4 separate regions of the Homo sapiens genome follow, and regions 2, 3 and 4 are each linked to region 1. Evidence: promoter capture Hi-C in human tissues and cell types (Jung and others, 2019). All regions are on one chromosome and are shown on one strand. The core of a region is centred on a gene start or on the middle of the fragment in contact, and the rest is flanking DNA. Distances in the headings are between cores, read along the strand shown.

What was found. Contacts are between HindIII fragments. The study calls those that stand out against the background at their distance.
Region 2: a fragment that was not itself captured here is called in contact with the fragment with the promoter of BLVRB in region 1 in 1 of the 25 tissues and cell types used here (lymphoblastoid cells).
Region 3: a contact is called between a fragment that was not itself captured here and the fragment with the promoter of BLVRB in region 1, in 1 of the 25 tissues and cell types used here (hippocampus).
Region 4: a contact is called between a fragment that was not itself captured here and the fragment with the promoter of BLVRB in region 1, in 2 of the 25 tissues and cell types used here (aorta and liver).

What each region holds. Positions count from the first base shown.
Region 1 is chr19:40,464,355-40,467,199 of GRCh38, forward strand. BLVRB (biliverdin reductase B) reads right to left here and starts at 1,391. Exons shown (of 5, transcript NM_000713.3): 1 at 1,256-1,391. The coding sequence starts at 1,334. It overlaps SPTBN4 (spectrin beta, non-erythrocytic 4), which reads left to right and starts at 2,647. Exons shown (of 36, transcript NM_020971.3): 1 at 2,647-2,845. RefSeq lists an enhancer at 465-584 and a silencer at 1,606-1,805. The HindIII fragment of the contact is 35,109 bases long and covers 1-2,845 here.
Region 2 is chr19:40,659,299-40,662,143 of GRCh38, forward strand. No RefSeq gene overlaps it. Among named protein-coding and RNA genes, the nearest start is that of NUMBL, 30 kb to the right of the region's middle. The HindIII fragment of the contact is 4,666 bases long and covers 1-2,845 here.
Region 3 is chr19:40,638,465-40,641,309 of GRCh38, forward strand. No RefSeq gene overlaps it. Among named protein-coding and RNA genes, the nearest start is that of LTBP4, 39 kb to the left of the region's middle. The HindIII fragment of the contact is 3,860 bases long and covers 1-2,845 here.
Region 4 is chr19:40,298,881-40,301,725 of GRCh38, forward strand. It overlaps a transcript of C19orf47 not described here and the pseudogene RNU6-945P. Among named protein-coding and RNA genes, the nearest start is that of AKT2, 15 kb to the left of the region's middle. The HindIII fragment of the contact is 5,785 bases long and covers 1-2,845 here.

The sequences.
Region 1 (2,845 bases), core at 141-2,640:
AAGTGCTGGGATTATAGGCATGATCCACCGTGCCTGGCCAGCCCTTCCCTTTGCTGAGGGGGACAGCAAAGCTGAGAGCTGGGAAGAGATTTTTCAGAGCCACAGCTCTGAAGCTCCCTAGGCTCCAGTTCTTAACCCTCTGAGTGCAGTCCCAGCTATGACCAGCAGGGTGGGCGAGTGGAATTCGGTGGAATTAGTGGATTTCCAGGTGACTCAGCGCCTCTCAACTTCTCTCTCTTACTTCCTTCTCCATTACTCCCGAATAAATGCTTATCAGCAAACTGGTTTTTACTGAGAGGCCCACAGCTCCCCATTCTCCACAAGTCAAGATCCTCACGTGGTCTCCCTGGGGAAGGGGAGAGTTATGGACCTAGAGAAGAACTTTCAGAGTCCCTCCAAGGGAGACAGCAGAGTGGGGTCCTGTTGGCCTCCACCCTTTTGGGGCACGCAGATAGTCAATATCTTCAGCGTCCCCAAGGCCTGCAAGGGTGGGGCCCCATATCTGGAAGTCCCAGGCCCAGCTGGGAGTTGGTCAAGTCTGGGCTGTGGGGGCAGGGAGTGCTGGGGGATGGTTATCCCCTTTTCTGCCCTCTCTCCTGGGGCAACTCCAAATTTTCAGCCCTCATTGACTTTCCCAGGACTGCTGTCCCCAAGTCTTCACTCATGTCTCTCTGTGACTCCTTCCCATTAGGTACTCGCAGCAACCTGACCCCCCAACTTTTTCAGTTTCCAGCCTGGGGACTTGTGGTGGTTAAGAGCATGAGCTGAGTTCAAATCCCAGTCCTGTCAGTTAACAGCTGTGTGATATTGGGCAAGTCACTCTCTGGGTCTCAGTTTTCTCATCTGTCAAGTAGGGTGATACTAGTTCCCACCCCATTTTGAAAGCTCTCATGTGAAGAGACGACAGAGCAAGCTTGGCTTAGTAAATCCTCTCTGGGAGTGCGAACAACCACCACCACAACCACAATAATGACAACCGCATTGCATAAGAGCCCTGGACTTACACACGACTGTGCCAGTGGAGTCCTCCCGGGGCTCCCGGGGCCAATTCCTCTCTGGCTTGGACTCACATAAACTTGGATCTCACATCTTTCCCCATTTCTGCCCCCGTGGCCACTTGCTTTGGCCCCTGAGTCCTCATACACCTGGCTGGGGCGCTCATGGCCCCAATCAGCCTCGGCCCGACCCCATGGTGCCCCTTCCTAAAGTTCTGCCCGTCTGTCCCGTGACATGCCCCGCCCGCCCCGGCTCATGCCTGCTTGCACCGCCTGCGCCAGGGTGGTGAGCCCGGTCTGGCCAGTGGCGCCGAAGATCGCGATCTTCTTGACGGCCATCGTACGGGATCGTGGGGGTGCAAGGCCTCAGAGTCTCGGCACGCGCGGGAACCCACTGGCTGCTGGGCGGTGCTCTCTGCCCTACTCAAGCCAGGAACAACGGGGCGGAGCTGGCTCGAAGGGCCACGCCTCAGACTCTCCGCCCGCGGCTCAGGTCAAGGGGCGGGGCCTAACGCGGATGGGCGGGGCAGGCGTCAGCTTGCATTCGCTCACCGTCCAGCACCGCCCTCTCTGCGCGCCACTTAGACTGGAAGGCGGGGCCACAGAAGGCCACGCCTCCACATAGCAACAAATAGAGTGGACGGAGCCGAGATAACTTGTCACTCAGCGCCCTGCCTCCGCGCTCCACCTCCCGGAGAGGGGCGGGGCCAGGCGAGCCTCACCCACGGCCTCTCGTAGCTCACGCCCCCTCTCCCGGAGCCTGGAGCGGATCTGGGGCGCACTCTAAGCCCCAGGGCCTCCCAGAACCAGCAAGGGGAGAAAGTTAGGAGGACAGAGTGTGTGTGTGCACTTGGATGTAAGACACTGTGTCACGGCGTACCTATGCACTTATATGACCCTGTGTGACTCAGTGACCCGGAGGGCAAGCAGGACTGTGGGTGACACCTTGTGTCATCCTCTGAGTGTGATCCCGTGTTACAGTGTGACTACACGTGCGTGACACCACGTGTGGCAGGCATTGATTCTGTTCTTTTGTGACCTTGTGGTGACACCGTGGGTGACACTGCGTCAGCCTGTACGATAGGGTGTGGGACGTGTGAGGTGTGCTACATGGAAGCGTGAGACTAATTAGACTGTGACAGTGTGTGACACCACATGTCTCGTGTAAGGATGTGTGACACCGGGACCCCATTCGAGTGTGTGGCTGTGGGTGTCTGTGTTGAGCTGCTCATTGTGACCCCCTGTGACTATGATGTGTGAGGTGCGGCGGTGCAGCATGTGCGGGGCGACTGCTATGAAGGTTCGAGTGTGTAGAGTGTGTGACACTGTGGCTGTGAAGCTGTGCGTGATGTGTGGGCCTATGACACTGTTTGTGACTGCCGGGGAGTGTGCGGCTGTGTGTGACAGGTGCATTTGTGTGTGACGCCGCGTGGGCGGTGGTTACCCTATTGGATTTGTGTGGTGGTGGGTGACACCGTTCCAGTGTGGACGCCGCGTGTGACGGCGTGAGGGTGTGACCCCGTGAGACCCCACAGGAGGGAGTGACGGCGCGCAAGCGCGTGGATGCGGGGGTGAGTTTGTGCGCCGAGGCCCCCGCGAGTATGGCAGCGTGGCGAGCGTGACCCCGTGGGAGTGTGCAGCGCGTGACGCCGCCGTGCCCTCGCGAGTGCAGCCGTGCACCCCACGCCGCGGCCGGGTGTGACTGCGCGTGGGCCTCGGGCGGCGGGGCGCGGGGACCGCGGGCGGGAGGGGGTCCCGGGGGCGCGCTGAGCGCGGCGGCGGCGCGAGAGAGGGAGGCGCGGCGGCGCATGCGGATCTGGCTGAGCCGCGGGCCGGCGGGGCCGAGCTGA
Region 2 (2,845 bases), core at 161-2,660, 190 kb after region 1:
GGACTGCCAAGTGGATGCCTAATAATTTCCCATCAAAACTTGTAAAATTGCTCGTTTGATGAGGAGAATGAGCAGAAGCGTAGACATGCTGGAGAAGAACTCTCTGGTGAAGCTTCCCAGGCTTATTTCTACTAAAGCTTCGGCTAACTTTCTCAAAACACTCTCATAATAAGCAGATCTTATTATTCTTTGACCCTACAGAAAGTCAACCAGCAAAATGCCTTGAGCATCCCCAAAAACTGTTGCTATGACCTTTGCTCTTGACCAGTGTGCTTCTGCCTTGACTGGATCACTTCCCCGCTCTTGGCAATCATTCTCTGATTACGATTTGTCTTTAGGATTGCACCCGTGAAACCATGTATCATTTCCCGTTACAATCCTTCAAGGAAATGCATTAGGATCTCGATCTCACTTGTTTAGCATGTCCATGGAAAGCTCTGCTCTTCTCTGCAGCTGATCTGGGTGCGACCGTTCTGGCACCCATCGAGTGGAAAGTTTGTTTAGCTTTAATTTCAGTCAGAATTGTGTAAGCTGAGGCCGGGTGAGGTGGCTCAAGCCTGTAATCCCAGCAGTTCGGGAGAATGAGGCAGGAGGATCACTTGTGTCCAGGAGTTCAAGACCAGCCTGGGAAACCTAATGAGACCCCCATCTCTACAAAAAATACGAAAATTTAGTGTCAGGCCTCTGAGCCCAAGCTAAGCCATCATATCGCCTGTGACCTGCACGTATACATCCAGGTGGCCTGAAGCAACTGAAGAGCCACAAAAGAAGTGAAAATAGCCTTAACTGATGACATTCCACCATTGTGATTTGTTTCTGCCCCACCCTAATGATCAATGTACTTTGTAATCTCCCCCACCCTTAAGAAGTTTCTTTGTAATTCTTCCCATCCTTGAGAATGAACTTTGTGAGATCCGCCCCCTGCCCGCAAAACATTGCTCCAAACTCCACCGCCTATCCCAAAACCTATAAGAATTAATCATAATCCCACCACCCTTTGCTGACTCTCTTTTTGGACTCAGCCTGCCTGCACCCAGGTGAAATAAACAGCCTTGTTGCTCACACAAAGCCTGTTTGGTGGTCTCTTCACAGGGACGCGTGTGACACTTAGCTGAACGTGCTGGCACGCACCTGTAGTTCCAACTACTTCGGAGGCTGAGGTGGAAGGATCGCTTGAGCCCAGGAGGTTGAGGCTGCAGTGAGCCACAATCTCACCACTGTACTCAGCCTGGGCGACAGTATGAGAACCCTGTCTCAAAAAAAAAAAAAAAAAAAAAGAAAAAAGAATTGTGTAAGCTGTACCAATTGAGATGTCTATGGTGTTGGCTATTGTTTCTGCTGTTAACTGTAAGTCCTCTTTAATTAAGGCATAAACAAATTTAATTTTTTTCTGCAAAAATTGATGTGGATGGTATGCCACGGTGGGCTTCATCTTCAGCATGACCCAGGCTGGAGTGCAGTGGCGCAATCACGGCTCACTGCAACCTCTACCTCCCAGACTCAAGTGATCCTCCCACCTCAGCCTCCTGAGTAGCTGGAACTACAAGTGTGCACCACCACACCCAGCTAATTTATGTATTTTTTGTACGGATGGGGTTTCACCATGTTACCCAGGCTGGTCTCGAATTCCTGAGCTCCAATGATCCGCTGGCCTCAGCCTCCCAAAGTATTGGGATTACAGGCGTGAACCACCACGCCCGAACTTGTCCCTTCTTAAAACGAGTTATCCATTTGTAAATGGCTGATTTCTCTGGGGCACTGTCAAGTTTTTGGAAAACATCAATGATTTCATCATTCTTCCACCCAAGCTTCACCATCAATTTGATGCTTGTTCTTGCTTCAATTTTAGAATTCGTGTTGCTCTGATAGGGGCTCTTTTCAATCTGATGTTTTATTTTAGTGTCTCAAACTAGGTCCTGTTCAGACAAGTTATAACAAGTTAGTATGAATTTATTTTGGTGCAAAAAAAAAAAATTGAACTCCATGCATAGTTTTTTCATAATACACATTTTCCATGAATTTTTGGAAGACCCTTCTTTTTCTCTCTTTTTTTTTTTTTTTTTTTTTTCTGTAGAGATGGTCTTGTTCTGTCACCCAGGCTGGAGTGCAGTGGCACAATCATGGCTCACTGCAGCCTCGACCTCCTGGGCTCAAGCAATCCTCCCACCTCAGCTTCCTGTTACTGGGACTATAGGTGTGCACCACCACACCTTGATAATTAAAAAAAAAAATTTTTTTGTAGAGATCGGGGTGGGGGGGGGGGTCTCACTATATTTTCCAGGCTGGTCTTGAACTCCTGGCCTCAAGTGACCCTCCCCAATCAGCCTCCCAAAGTGCTGGGATTACAGGCACAAGCCACAGTGCCTGGCCAATAAATGTTTTTTGAATGAATGAAGAAATTAGTGCATGGACATATTTTCCCATCAGCTATTACAATAACCAGACTCTGAGTTCCCTGAAGGCAGGGCCTGTGAGTTTCATTGTGTACCCTCAGCCCTCAATAGCTGATAAAAATAAATATTCAGAAAATGCTTGTAAAATGAAGAAGAGAATATGTATGGGACAGAAAGTAGACCAGTGGTTGCCTGGGGCTGGGACAGGGAATAGGGAGCGACTGCAAATGGGCAGAAGGGATCTTTTCAGAGTGATGGAAATGTTCTTGAATTGGCTGTGATGGCTGCAGAACTGTAAAATCACCCAAAATCAGTAAATCACTTATAATAGGTGAATTTTATGACAGGTAGATTATACCTCAGTAAAGCTGTTAAAACAAAACCAGTGTTGAGGGAGGAAATAAATGTTACCTTGGTAATACTGAGGACTCAGTAGTTATCAAGACAGCTCT
Region 3 (2,845 bases), core at 255-2,754, 170 kb after region 1:
TATTAGGTGGGTGTGGTCTTGTACACCTGTAGTGCCAGCTACACAGGGGGTTGAGGAGGGAGGATCCATTGAGACCAGGAGTTCCAGCCTGCAACGAGCTAGGATCTCACCACTGCACTGCAGGCTGGGCAACAGAGCAAGACCCTGCCTCAAAAAAAAAAAAAAAAAAAAAAGCATGTTAAAATTTCAAAGATTGCTACAAAAAGAAAGAAATGGTGCATAGATTCCAAACTAGTAGAGGGAAAACAAAGAATAAGAAAACATAAGACAAAACTAAACAAAAAATGCAGCCAATTCAAAGAAGCTTAAATGAGCATGAAAAAATAAATAAACGTAGAAAAATGAGGACACTAGAATCACAAAGCAAAATGGTAGAAGTAAATAAAATACATCATTAATCACATACACAAAAAATGTATTCAGGGCCAGGTATGGTGGCTCACACCTGTAATCCCAGCACTTTGTGAGGCTGGGGCAGACGGATCACTTGAGGCAACAAGTTTGAGACTAGCCTGGCCAACATGGTGAAACCCCATCTCTACCAAAAATACAAAAAAAAAAAAAAAAAAAAAGAAGAAGAAGTTATCCAGGCATTGTGGTGCACGCCTGTAATCCCAGCTACTTGGGAGGCTGAGGTAGGAGAATTGCTTGAATCCAGGAAGTGGAGGTTGCAGTGAGCTCAGATTGCACCACTGCACTCCAGCCTGGGTGACAGAGTGAGACTCCCTCTCAAAAACAAACAAAGAAAAAATGTATTCAGAGGCCAAATACTTCTTACCACCTCCATAGCTGCCACCCATATCTTACCCTCCTCCTAGGGTTTGGAGTTCCTACTCCTGGCCCCACAATCTCTCCCCGTCATGCAGATAGAGGGACTCTGGGAATAACCAAGTCAACTCAACTCCCTCTGCTGCTCAAAACTTTCCTGTGGCTCCATCTCACTCAAAGATTATTTTGCTCATTTTTTTTTTGTTTTTTTTTGAGACAGGGTCTCACTCTGTTGCCCAGGCTGGAGTGCAGTGGTGCAAGTCATGACTCACTGCAGCCTAGACTTCCTCGGCTCAAGCCATCCTCCAGGCCTCCAGGGCTACCACAACCCAGCCAATTTTTTGATAGAGACGAGGCCTCCCTTATTGCCCAAGCTGGTCTTGAACTTATGGGCTCAACTTATCTACCCACCTCGGCCTCCCAAAATGCTGGGATTCCAGGCCTGAGCCACTGTGTTCCGCCAATCTCATTCAAAGTAAGAGCCAAAGTCCTCACTGTGGTCCAGCAGACTCTGCACCGTCTGCTTCTTGTTCCCTCTCTGACCTCACCTCCCCTCCACCCCCCACACGCTCCTCTGCAGCAACACGGATCTCCTTGTTGTTTCTCTAAGATCCAGACATGTTCCCATCCCACCCCAGGACCTTGGCACTGGCTGTTCCCTCTGCCTAGGGGACTCTTTCCACTAGGTTCAGTTTCTCTTTTTTTTTTTTTTTGAGACGGAGTTTTTTCACTCTTGTTGCCCAGACTGGAGTGCAGTGGCACGATCTCGGCTCACAGCAAGCTCCTCCTCTCAGGTTCAGGCAATTCTCCTGCCTCAGCCTCCCGAGTAGCTGGGACTACAGGCACCCGCCACCACCCCCAGCTAATTTTTGTATTATTAGTAGAGACGGGGTTTCACCATGTGGCCAGGCTGGTCTCGAACTGCTGATCTCAAGTGATCCATCTACCTCAGTCTCCCAAAGTGCTGGGATTACAGGTGTGAGCCACCGCGCCTGGCCCCCTTGGCTCAGTCCCTCACCACCAGCAGAAGAATGGATAAACTGATCCCACAGTGGCCTGCAATGTGTGTGTGCTGCAATGAGAATAACCTGTAACTGCACACGACAACCAGGATGAATTTTTTTCACGGTGCTGACTGAAAAAAGCCAGATGCTAAAAAGAACATATTTTCAGATTGCATTTACATGAATTCAAAACAGGCACAACCAATCTATGCTGTCAGAAGTGAGGGTGATAATGACCTTGGAGGGAGGGCAGGTGATAAGGGAGCGCCGAGGGGGCTTCTGGGGGGCTGGAGATATTGCTTCTTGGGCTGGTGGCTGGTGACACAGGTGTGTTCAATCGGTGATAATTCCTCCAGCGGTTACACTTACGGTTTGTACTTTCCTGAATATGGGTCTACTTCAAGAAACCACTGCTGAAAACGAGGAGCTGCACCCACCACCCAGTGTCCCCTCCATCCAGTTTAAGCAACAGGACATTCTCAGCCCCCCGGGGTCCCTCCCTCCCAATGCAATGTGCTTTTATGTCTTCAAGGGGCCTGGCCACCACCTTGGTTGCTTCCCCCAGCTTGCTATGCATGTCACCCCACGCATGTTCCAGGCAGCTCCACAGAGGTCCCCAGAGAGAAGGCAGGCTGTGGGTGGGAGGAAGGGCAGGGGTGGGGGACGTGGCTTCCCAGCGGAGCCCGGGCAGGGGGAGGAAACATTTCTGCAACACCCCACACCAAGTCCTGACTTCGGGGGGGCTTTGCAGGGTGAATTCTAAGTGCCCAGGGCCCCATGTGAAGGGGTCAACTGTGTCTCACTCTGTGTCTGTCTCTCTGTCTGTCTCTCTTCCTGTTTCCTCCCTCCCTCCCAGTCTCTCTCTCCTCAAGAAGAAAAAAACTCACAACTATTTACATAACAATTTTATATCAGACTGTAACCCAAAAACCCAAGTTCCAACTTCGAATTTTTCAATAAACTTTGAATAAATAGTAGTGCTATTTTTCTTTCTTTTTTTTTTTAGTACTGTAATGTTTACTTTTAAATTTAATTTTTACTGGCAGACTTTACGTATATGAGGTTCAAGAAAA
Region 4 (2,845 bases), core at 124-2,623, 170 kb before region 1:
ATCTTTTGTGGTCAAACTGACCAAAATTGAGTGAATTTATTATGTCTTAAAAATGAGAGTGAATTTATTATGTCTTAAAAATGAGCCCTAATATCAAGGGTACATTGATGCAAAACTAGAATTTGGCATTATCTTTTAAAATGCAAGATTTTCTTGTAGTATTGATAAAAAAGAGTGAAAGATTTTCTTTTTCACCTTTTAAGTAATCTGCCTTAAAAAATTATGTCTTATCAAAATAATTTTCTCTTTCATGTTATCTTTTATCAGGCCTTCAATTACTTTCCAAGAAAATAAAATCCTATTAAGAGAGCTAATATATATATTTTTACAACTATATAACTTTATTTGCCTTCAAAGCCTTTTAATAATTACCCTGGTGATTATGAAATGAATATTAATAAATATTAAATGCTCATTAAATACTTAAATCATAAAATATTAAATGATTATAAAATGAACAGTTGATTAAATAGGATCCCAGATCACTATATAATTCAATAATCACTCTGGTAACCAGACTAATTATTAGTGACCTAAATTAATAGTTACCTGAGATCCTATTAATCAAATTTTTCCTTTTTTCTTTTCTTAATTTCAAAAAATATGGAAGGCCTCATGAATTTGTGAGTTATCCTTGCACAGGGGCCATGCTAATCTTCTCTGCATCATTCCAACTTTAGTATATGTGCTGCCAAAGCAAGCACTCATCAAGTGTTTTAAATCTTTTTTTACATTTTTGACAAACTTCCTAAAATCAAATTCTAAATTCAGTCTTTTGACCTTGAATTAACTTTGGAATTTGCCAGTTGAGCCCCTGGGAAAGCTCAAAAGATGTGTTTCTCACCTCGAAAAAGAGAGACATTAGCCAGGCACGGTGGCTCACGTCTGTAATCCCAGTACTTTGGGAGGCCGAGGCAGGTGGATCACCTGAAGTCAGGAGTTTAAGACCAGCCTGGCCGACATGGCGAAACCCTGTCTCTACTAAAAATACAAAAAAAATTAGTCAGGCGTGGTGACGGGCACCTATAATCCCAGCTACTCGGGAGGCTGAGGCAGGAGAATCGCTTGAACCCAGGGGGCGGAGGTTGCAGAGAGCCGAGATCGCACCATTGCACTCCAGCCTGGGTAACAGAGCGAAACTCCATCTGAAAAAAGAGAGATATTAGACTAATTAGGCTTATTTGAAATGTTAAATTAAATGGGAAACATTGTCAAATAATAAATGATGCTAAACGTTTATATTTATGAACCCAGGGTAGGAGGTGATGAGGGTGATAAAAAACATTTTTTTAAATAAGTTATATGGCCGGGTGCAATGGCTCGTGCTTGTAATCCCAGCACTTTGGGAGGCCAGGGCAGGTGGATCACGAGGTCAGGAGTTCAAGACCAGCCTAGCCAACACAATGAAACCCCGTCTCTACTAAAAATACAAAAATTAGCTGGGTGTGGTGGCAGGCACCTGTAATCCCAGCTACTTGGGAGGGTGAGGCAGGAGAATTGCTTGAACCCAGGAGGCGGAGGTTGCAGTGAGCCAAGATCGCACCACTGCATTCCAGCCTGGGCGACACAGCTAGACACCATCTCAAAAAAAAAAAAGTTATATTTCTGGATATGTTACTGATATGAATGTTCTAAAAATTATGAGATTCCTAGAAATCTAATGTTATAAGTCATAATTTTGTTACTATGTTAACATGATATATGCCACAGAAATAACCAGGTTTCCTTGTCAATTGCTGGTTATAATGAACTCTCATCAGATTTTTTAACCATGGCCATTCTGTCTTGCTCATCAATAGTGTTTTGGTTCTTCTCTAAAAGCATTTGCAATCAGCTATTGCCCCAAATTGCTTCTTCAAGATTCATGGAAATGACTCTGACAAGTAGTCTGGAATAGAAGGTCCTAATAAACTTATGATTATAACATTGGACTGGGTAAGAATTTCCAAAACTCTAGTGGAAAAACTGGACTCAGAAAACTGCTGACTCGACTAGGTGTGGTGGCTCATGCCTGTAATACTAGCACTTTGAGAGGCCCAGGCAGGCGGTTCATTTAAGGCCAGAAGCTCGAGACCAGCCTGGCCAACATAGAGAATCCCGATCTCTACTAAAAATACAAACAAAACAAAAAAATTAGTTGAGTGTGGTGGTGCACACCTGTAATCCCAGCTACTCCAGAGGCTGAGGCACGAGAATCGCTTGAGCCCGGGAGGTGGAGGTTACACTGAACCGAGGCACTCCAGCCTGGGTAACAGAGCGAGACTCTGTCTCAGAAAATAAAAAGAAAAAGAAACCCTGCTAACAACATCAGGAAGAATAAGAATTACATGGGACTGAGCTGACAGATTATAATTTTTTTTTAATACCTACAGTATTATAGTGCCATAGGCATAGTTTGATGGCAAGTCCCTGGCTTCATAACCTTGAGAGGCTTTTATTTATTTATTTATTTATTTATTTATTTATTTATTTATTCTTGAGACAGAGTCTCGCTCTGTCGCCCAGGCTGGAGTGCAGTGGCATGATCTTGGCTCACTGCAACCTCCGCCTCCCAGGTTCAAGAGATTCTTCCTGCCTCAGCCTCCCGAGTAGCTGGGATTACAGGAACCCACCACCATGCCCAGCTAATTTTTGTATTTTTGGTAGAGACGAGGTTTCGCCATGTTGGTCAGGCTGGTCTCAAACTCCTGACCTCGTGATCCACCTGCCTCAGCCTCCCAAAGTGCTGGGATTGCAGGTGCGAGCCACCGCGCCTGGCCTGAGAAGCTTTGCCTGGCCAACATAGAGAAACCCATCTCTACTGAAAATACAAAAATTTGCTGGGCATGGTGGCCCACGCCTGCAG